Linked DNA regions of Homo sapiens: all the other regions are linked to region 3. The links are contacts of gene promoters, found by promoter capture Hi-C in blood cells and fetal thymus (Javierre and others, 2016). All regions are on one chromosome and are shown on one strand. The core of a region is centred on a gene start or on the middle of the fragment in contact, and the rest is flanking DNA. Distances in the headings are between cores, read along the strand shown.

Region 1 (2,700 bases), core at 153-2,652, 4.0 Mb after region 3:
TTTTTAGGTGTACAAAATTTATACACCTGATTTTAAGTTCCTGGGTATCAGGGTTCATACTTCTCTTAATTTTGTATTTCCTTGCAGTCCTACTTACGGGTGGCAGGGCTCCTCAAGGGATGGGTGTACCAATGACAACCATGAAAGTATTCTAAGGTATTCCCTAGGACTCCGAGAAAAAACATGCATCTTTCCAAAGGGAAAGAAGGGATTAGATGTTAGCATCCTACTCCATGTCAGATCCAGAGCACCCGGGGGAACTGAAGTTCGTGGATGGAATACAATGACACCTCAGAAAAGAAATACTCCTTTGGTGGAGGCCTTTAAACTTTTGGGGGCTCATTTTGTCTGCCTAACTCGCCCAGCCAGGGCGCAAAATGGCCACTTAGGAGCATGAGTGAGGTGCCAGCGTCCCTACAATCTAAGGAGCAGGGAGTCATCACTGGGGTGGCTGCCGCTCTACCTGTTTGCGACTGTAATAAAACACCTTCTGGAGGCCGAGGGACCCGCTTCATCCTGACTTTTCCCCTCAGTAGCTAGAGAGAAGGCGGCTGAAAAGAGGAGACAGAACTGGTGCTGAGTGGGCCTGGAGCTTCCGAGGCAAGGGAAAGAGGGAGAGGGCTGCAGTTCAAAGTCCAGACGCGCTTTCCTTCCATTCTCTTCCCTTCCTCCCTGCCCTCTGCGCCCCATTTTCCCCTTATCGTGGGTGGGGGCTTCTGATTTGCTGCGGATCCCAGAGATGGTGGGGTTCAGCCTCCGCACTGCTTAGCTAAGTTCCCAGCCCAGCAGTCCCAGCCGGGCTGTTTTCGGTAACCAAAGCACTAGGAATTAACCTCTCTCTCGGCCTCTTCCCTTTCGGTTTCCTTCTTGGGTTGGCTGGAAACTTCACCCAGACACCGAAGCAGCTCTGCCCGGCCTTTTGGCACAGGCCACCGGCCGAGGCCCCACGGGGCGCTCTCCTTCCCCAGGTGCCCCCGACTCCGATCCTGCCCTCAGGGGCTCGCCCGGGACGCGTTTTCCCAGAGGCCGCCGGGGCGGGGTGGGCTGGCTGGCGGGAAGAGGGGGCCGCGGCCCAGGCTCGCCCCGGCGCCGGCCCGGTGGGCACGCGGCCAGCCTCCGGCCCCGACTCGGTCCCTCCCGGCGCCCGCCCCAGCCGAGGCCCCCTCCCGGCCCCGCCGCCCGCCCGCGGGGGCGTGGGAGCGCCGCAGGAGCAGCTGGGACCCGGGCCGGGCCGACAGGCGGCGGCTGCGGCCTAGGGCTCCCGCGCGGCCACCGGCCTCTCCCCTCCCCCTCCCGGAAGCGCGGGGCGGGGTCCCCGGCCGGGCCGTGGGGGCGGGCGCGGGGGCCGGGCCGGGGCGGGACGCGCTCGGCGCTCGCGGGCTCGGCGGGCTGTGCGCGCCCACTCCGGCTCCAGCGGCCAGCGCGCGCGGGCCCAGGCCGCCCGGCTCCAGCCCAGCAGTAGCGGCAGCAGCGGCGGCGGCGGCAGTGCGCGCGAGGCCCTGCGCCCCCAGCAGCTCCTCCCTGGCGCCGTGCATGGAGACGCGGCCCGCCACCCGCCGCTGAGCCCCCGCCGCCCGGCCGGGACCCGCCAGGGCTGGGGTGGCCTCGGGCTCCGGCCGGCCCCGCCGCCCGAGGGCTGCGCGCGGCCCGCGGGCCTCGCCGCCCCGCGCGGATCGTCGCGGCCCGGCCGTCCCGTCCCAGGAAGTGGCCGTCCTGAGCGCCATGGCTCACTCCCCGGTGCAGTCGGGCCTGCCCGGCATGCAGGTAGGCGGGCGCGGGCCGCGGGGCCGGGATGCGCGACCGGGGCGGAAGCAGCAACTTGGCGGTATCCACACGGCGTCCCCCTACGCTCAGCCGGCCGGGGTCGCGCCGGAGCCTGGCTCCCCGCGCGCCCGGCTCGGCCGGGGGTCCGAGTCCGAGTCCCTGGGCGTCCCTGCCGGCTCCGGCGGCCGAGGTCTCCGGCGTGTGCGTGCAGGAGCCGTAGGAACCGCGGCCTGGGTCCGGATGTGGGGGTGCGGGCGCCTAGTCCTCCGCGCTCCCCTCGCCCCAACACTCTTCCGGAGCTGCAGGCCCTGGGTGGCCCTGTCCCCGGGAGAAGTGAGGTGGAGTGATGCCCTTGGAGGCCCCCGCCGGGTCCCGGGGCCCTGCGTGGTGGCCGGGTTGGCGGAGGGCCCCAGGACGCGTCCCCCAGGCTCGTCCCCCACCCCCGGGCAGGCGGGCGGGAGACCTGGGCAGGGCGGGGACGGGGAGCGCGCCTGGACTCGTCCGGGCCCGAGCGGAGTAGGCAGGGTGGAGTGGAGGAAGGTAACCGCGAGTTCCACTTGCAGTGGCTTTGCCCGGAGCCCCCGTGCACCTGCGGACCGGGGGAAAGTGCGAGTTGCAAACCTTCTGGAAGGAGGAATCCCTCGGACAGCCGCGCACCAGGGTCCCGGGCCCGGCCCCGGGACCCTGGACTTTCACTTTGAGACTTGGTTGCATTTACAGGAATTCTTCGCCCAGTAAACCTCTCTTTCGGTACTTGGTGACACCTTGGCCTACCAGTGACTTTTTGGGGAGTGGGAGAGGAGTTGAATTTCAAATTTACATGTATAAGTTAAAGGTTTTTTGTTGTTGTTGTTTTCGTTGTCGTTGCTTTTAGCCCTTTGAAAAACAAAGCTACCGTCCTTGGCTAACTCTTGTAAACTTTGTAGGCGCAGAAAT
Region 2 (2,700 bases), core at 90-2,589, 3.5 Mb after region 3:
GTGTTTTGCTCTCTGCGCTAGATCGGTATTTTCCCCTACCACTTTAAGATTACGCTTCAGGCCAGTGTTAGGCTTTCTGGTGGGGTGGGACGCAACAGGCGGCCTCCTCCACCGCAGCGATGGCGGCTATGAAACCTCTGGGTATTTGGGCGGGAGGCGCGGCAGGTATTCTCCCAAAACTGGGTTTTCAAGACCACCACTCTCTGCGGAGGCCGACCCGGCAGGTAAGGAACTGTCCATCGGAAGGCAACGGGCGTGGCGTGAGCAGCCCGACCAATCAGCAGAGCCGCCGTTCAGTCAGGCTCCCCGCCCGGGGTACCCGCCCAGTCCCCAACCACTGAGCATGCGCCGCGGGCCTGGCGCAAATCCCCGCCTGGCGCGCCCTCTCCGCGGCCCTGTGAGGGTTAGGCTGCGCCGGGCTTCCTCAGAGAGACAGAAACGGAGCCGGGGCGGGAGCGGGCCCTTAGGGACAGGAAAGCGGTTAGGGTATTGGGGGGAAAGTCCCTCACAGGGTGGCTGTCGCTAGCGGCCGCCAGCTCTGCGTCACGGTGGGCTCGCAAGCCGGCGCATCGCAGTTTCCCTGGTACCCCGCCTGGCGGTCCGGCGCGGAGGGGCGGCAGACCGGCTAAATCGGCCCCAGTGAGGGCCGCCGTGTCACCTGAGCCCCTTCCAGGCCGTTGTCCTCAGGTTACAGGCGACATAACCGAGGCTCCGAAGTATTGCCCACGTCCAAGGTGACGCAGCTGGCCGTCCCGGCGGGCCGGAGTCTGGGAGTCTCCCACGCCTGGCCCGGCCCAACCGTCATCGTCCCGCCGCGAGCTCCGTGCCTCCGGGGACTGAACGGTGGGGAGGCCGAGGCGCCACACGAGCGCGCGGCGCCCCGCGCCAGGTTCCGAGCAGGGACGCTCCGTCCAGGTCCGCCTGGCCGGCCGCGGGTTCCGATCGGTGCCACATAAATAAAGGCTACTTTCCTGAGACCTCTGTCCCCGCAGAGGCCCCGGGCGCAGAGGGGGGGCGTGGTGCACCGAGCTCCGACCCTGCCGGTGACTTCGGGGTCCCCTCGAGCGCAGCCGGGCTCCCTGGGCAGGAAACCCTGCTCCGAAACCGCGCATCGTCCAGCCTCGGCTGTGCGCCCTCTTGGTGGCGTGCGCAGTCCCCTCCTCCGGTCTTCGGACGTGCGGCCCGGGGCGGAGGCGGCCCCGACCCCCCACCTTCCCCAGTGAGGGTCCCGCGCGGCACGCCGCCCCTGCCAGTCCGGCCGCCTAGCTCCAGCGCCGGGCCGCGCCGACCTGCCTGGCCCGCCGTCCCGCCGCGGCGGCCCCTCCTCCGCCGTCCGGGCGCCCCGCCCCGCCCGCGCCGCGCCGGACACCCCGCCCCGAGGAGGCGGCCCGGCGAGTGGTCGCCGAGGGAGGCTGGTGGCATGGGGGAGCCGCCGCCGCCACACGCACGGTCGCCCGGAGCGAGCCCGGGCGCTGCTGCGATCGCGGGGGGCCGCGGACGCCGAGGGGGGCGCCTTGGGGCGTGACACGGTGCAGAGGGCGCGGCCTGGGCTGCGGCGGCCGGACTCGCGGCGAGCAGCGGGGGGAGCAGGCGGCGGCGGCGCCGGGAGCGGCGGGCGGAGCGGGCCGGGCGCCGAGGGCGCACCTGGCGGCCGCGCGGCCGGGCCGGGCCGCGGGAGCAGGCGGAGGCGGAGGCGGCGGGGGCAGGAGGATGTCGCAGCCGCCGCTGCTCCCCGCCTCGGCGGAGACTCGGAAGTTCACCCGGGCGCTGAGTAAGCCGGGCACGGCGGCCGAGCTGCGGCAGAGCGTGTCTGAGGTGGTGCGCGGCTCCGTGCTCCTGGTGAGTGCGGGACGACCGCGGGCCGGGGGAGGATGGCGGGGGCGCAGGCAGCTGCGGGCCCCGGGCCGGGCGCCTCTTAGTCGGCAGGGCTGAGGCAGAGCGGCCGACCCTGCTGGGTCCGCGGAATCAAGAGGTGGGGCCGGCGGGAGGGAGTTGGACAGGGGAGAAGAGAAGGTCCTGGAGGGGCTGCAACTCCCAGACCCCTCCCCGCCACCCAAGATCCTGTCCCCATCGCTGTCCCCTTCCTCCTGGGAAATTTCCGCAGAGTGATGTCGCCCTGTCACTCTTTTCACCCCGCTCTCTCCCAATTTACCTGCTTTCTGTCAACTGGGAAATTACACTCTCCCCCCTCCCCCGCATCCCTCCCCCGTATCCCTCCCCCGGCCTCCCTCTCCTTCCATGTTTTGGAGGGGCGCAGGGGAATTGAGGTGGGGGCTTCCTCATCCAGTCTGCGCTCAGGGTGGGAGATGCCCCTGCTAACCCTTTGAGTTGGCTGAACTCCAGGAGGGAAGGACTTCGGCATCCTCTCCTGCGCCCCCCACCTCCAAGCCGGTATCCTGAAGTTTGGCCGCCTTTTAGGAAGGCTTGGGGGGCATGATGGGAACCCTCGCTAATTTAGTATTGGTGCAAATTCCTGTGACGTTTGGGGGTTCTAAGTAAGCAAAGCCATCAGCCCAAAACGAATCTTCCCGTGGCAGAACGTCTTTAGAGAATAGGCCTCTGGGTGTGAGGAAGATGAAGTTTTCGATTAACTTTTTCACAGCCAGCGCCGGTCCTGCTGTATTTGGAAACGCACTACAACCCGATTCACCTGGATGGTGCGGGAGTGGAGCGACGTTTGAGCAGGAGCGAGCTCTGCAG
Region 3 (2,700 bases), core at 105-2,604:
GGATCCAGAAGGGAAGGGACATTGTGGGGAGGAGGATGAGTGTTTAGTGTAGAAAGGAGGATAAGATAGCCAGGGGCTGATCAACGAGAGATCAGCATACAGTAGGATTAGTCAGGGATGCTGGGAGATGGATCTTGAATAACGGTGAAATTTTATTACTGGATTTCAGTAAAGGGTTAAAAGTACAAAAGTTAAACTTTAAAGACTTTAAACAGAATGCTTTTAACGAGAGACAACATACTTTCAAAAAAACTACCTTCTGGTATGATACCTTGAATCTACAGATTTTAAAGTTGCCTAAGGCAAAAAACTAAGTAATTTTTAAAAACCGTCGTATGTTTTCAGGTTTAAAAAAAAAAAAGTCGCATATTTTCATAAGGTCTGAGAAGCTCGCCAAAACCAAACCTAACTGAATTCTCCTTATGTAAACGAAGACTAAGCCACAAGATTCAATGACCCTAAGCAAACACGCTGCAGAAGACCGTTTAAAAATAGAATACACAAAACTACCACAGGAAACAATTCCGGAAGAGGACTGGGTTATCTTCTGGAAACCCAGCTTTCGTGCTTAAAGACAAACTATTCTTCCCCAAACCAAATCTCCCGATCCCTAAACATTAAGTTCTCACATGTCAGTTGCCTATCTGGTGTCTCCACCCCACCCCAATGATAAAAGCTGTAAAATTCTCTTTAAAAACGTCAGGCTGGGACCGGTGTCCGAGGCACGAGGGGTAGGCAGAGGAAGGCGGCGTGGAGGGAAGGAGCCTGGGGGGTCCGGCCTGGCAGCGCCGAAGCGAGAAGGAAGGGGAGTCCCTGGGGCCAAAGGGGGACCCAGGCTTCCCCAGGCAGCCGCGCCGGGCACGCTGCTTTTGTTGAGCTGGGGGGACCACGGCCCAACCTGGGGTCCGGGCCCTCGCCCGCCCAGCGACCCTGGCACTGTGCGCCGTTGAGTCCCCTTGGCGGGCGCCCGTCCCTCCCGCGCCTGGCTCTGACCTCTGCCCACCCCGGTGCTGCCCACCCCGGCCCGGACTCGGCCGCAGAGCGGGGCTTTGGCCTGCCGGGCTCCGAGACTGTGTCCCCACCCGCGTCCCCGGCCGCCCGCGCCCCCGCGCCCGGGCCCTCGGGGGCCGCCTCACCTGCATGCCCGGAGCCCCCGGGTCGACCCCCGTGTCCAGGACTGCGATGAGCACCCCCCGCCCATCATACTCCGGGTAGCGGCAGAGGAAGGAGGCGGCTCCGGTCTCCTTCTTCGGCAGGAGACCGTGAAAAGGGAAGGGCTCCTCAGTCGCAGCGGTGGCCATGGACGCAGGATGGAGGACGAGGAAGCGGCAAACTGCCAGGCTGCGCGCGGACTAGCAGCGCGAGGACACCCGTGCGGCCTCGGGCCGGAGGCGGGGGCGAGGGGCGGGGTCGGCCCGTCTTCCACCAATCCCGGCCTGCCAGGGAGCGGTGGCCAATCACGTGCTGCTACGTAAGCCAACGGCGCCGCTCTCAGGAGCTAGGCCCGAGTATTGCCCGGGCTGCAGTGAAGGGGGAGGAGTCTGAGGACATTACTGGAGGGTTCGGATCTCGAACCTGGGGCCTTGAAGAGGCCCGCGCTTGGGGTTTTTAGGCAACAGCAGGCCTCCAAGCAGAGTCCTGGTGTCCCGGACCGAATCACTCCCCGAGAGACGGGCAAGGAGATGGACCGCCAGCCAGGAATAATGGGAACCCTTCGCTTGGCAAACGATAGTTTCCAAACTTAAGGTTGTGGATGAAACTTTTTGGTGCGGCTGCTGCAGGAGCCCCAGCCCCGGGGTGCTGCTGACCCGAGGCAAGGGAGCCGGCGCACTCACGCTTAGCCGCTAAGGAGTCTGCGGTGTCGGCGAAAGCTCCGGACATGATTTTGGAAGGTCGTAGGTTAAGGGGTGTAGACTTTGGGTTCCCCTGTGTTGTTATGCCCCTTTGATGGGGGTGAGGTGGTGAGGGGGAGCAATAGGGTGGAGACAGGCAATAGTTTCAGTCAACAGGAAGTGGGTTGTTGGTCATTCCGTCGCCTTTGTAGCCAGTAACAAAGCACGAGACTGAAATGGGCCCCTCCTATCCTCTGCTGATCCTTAGCTTCCGGGATTTCTGAAAAACATCTTTTTTTTTCCTCTTACACTGAAGTTTCTGATTGCTCCTTACGGCTGTCCACTCAATTATAGAGCCATAATTTTCAGTTTTCCAGATTCACAGTGCCTGCCGTCAGTTGCTGCAAGCTGCATAGTGGTCCTCTAATGATCTTTATGTCTATGCTCATGCCAGGGTAATCTTAGCCTTTTATTGTGCCGAAGACCCCTTTGGCAATCTGGTGAGGCCTATTTCTCAAGCAGTGTTTTAAAATGCATACAATGAAATAGATAGGATTACCCAGGAAATAAATTATGTTTAAATGCAGTTATCAAAAATACTAAAGGCAATTTTGTTATATAGCAGGAGCTTTACGTGTGTGTGTATAGTTACAGGTGTACTTCTTTTGCATTAAATAACAGGAGCTAGGGCCAAGGCTAATAAACTACCATAACTTCAAAATAGTGAAGAATATAATTATTTGGAGATAGCGGTGAAAACTGCACTACGATGAACTGATTTTTATTGGTGACATAACAGCATAACTACCCTGGTTTTTGCCTACATTCATACTTGATGTGAAAAAAATTAAGAGGTTTGTATCTTTTT

What was found. The method cuts DNA at HindIII sites, captures the fragments that hold promoters and counts their contacts. A CHiCAGO score of 5 or more calls a contact.
Region 1: a contact is called between the fragment with the promoter of STK24 here and the fragment with the promoter of TPP2 in region 3, in 7 of 17 cell types (activated CD4 T cells, naive CD8 T cells, total CD8 T cells and 4 more). The highest score is 14.3, in activated CD4 T cells.
Region 2: a contact is called between the fragment with the promoter of DOCK9-DT here and the fragment with the promoter of TPP2 in region 3, in 4 of 17 cell types (naive CD8 T cells, fetal thymus, total B cells and 1 more). The highest score is 12.5, in naive CD8 T cells.

Annotation. Positions count from the first base shown.
Region 1 is chr13:98,575,809-98,578,508 of GRCh38, reverse strand. It overlaps STK24 (serine/threonine kinase 24), which reads left to right and starts at 1,402. Exons shown (of 11, transcript NM_001032296.4): 1 at 1,402-1,764. The coding sequence starts at 1,723. It overlaps STK24-AS1 (STK24 antisense RNA 1), which reads right to left and starts at 1,254. Exons shown (of 1, transcript NR_046542.1): 1 at 1-1,254. RefSeq lists an enhancer at 689-878 and silencers at 969-1,118, 1,139-1,448, 1,499-2,368. The HindIII fragment of the contact is 9,197 bases long and covers 1-2,700 here.
Region 2 is chr13:99,085,362-99,088,061 of GRCh38, reverse strand. It overlaps DOCK9-DT (DOCK9 divergent transcript), which reads right to left and starts at 1,339. Exons shown (of 1, transcript NR_047482.1): 1 at 1-1,339. It also overlaps a transcript of DOCK9 not described here. RefSeq lists enhancers at 1-213, 776-1,337 and silencers at 218-447, 1,028-1,087, 1,178-1,487, 1,528-2,007. The HindIII fragment of the contact is 5,433 bases long and covers 1-2,700 here.
Region 3 is chr13:102,595,640-102,598,339 of GRCh38, reverse strand. TPP2 (tripeptidyl peptidase 2) reads right to left here and starts at 1,354. Exons shown (of 30, transcript NM_001330588.2): 1 at 1,137-1,354. The coding sequence starts at 1,301. LOC107984588 (a long non-coding RNA gene) reads left to right here and starts at 1,398. Exons shown (of 2, transcript XR_001749984.3): 1 at 1,398-1,892. RefSeq lists silencers at 841-1,130, 1,291-1,580 and enhancers at 1,651-1,710, 1,761-1,920. The HindIII fragment of the contact is 7,622 bases long and covers 1-2,700 here.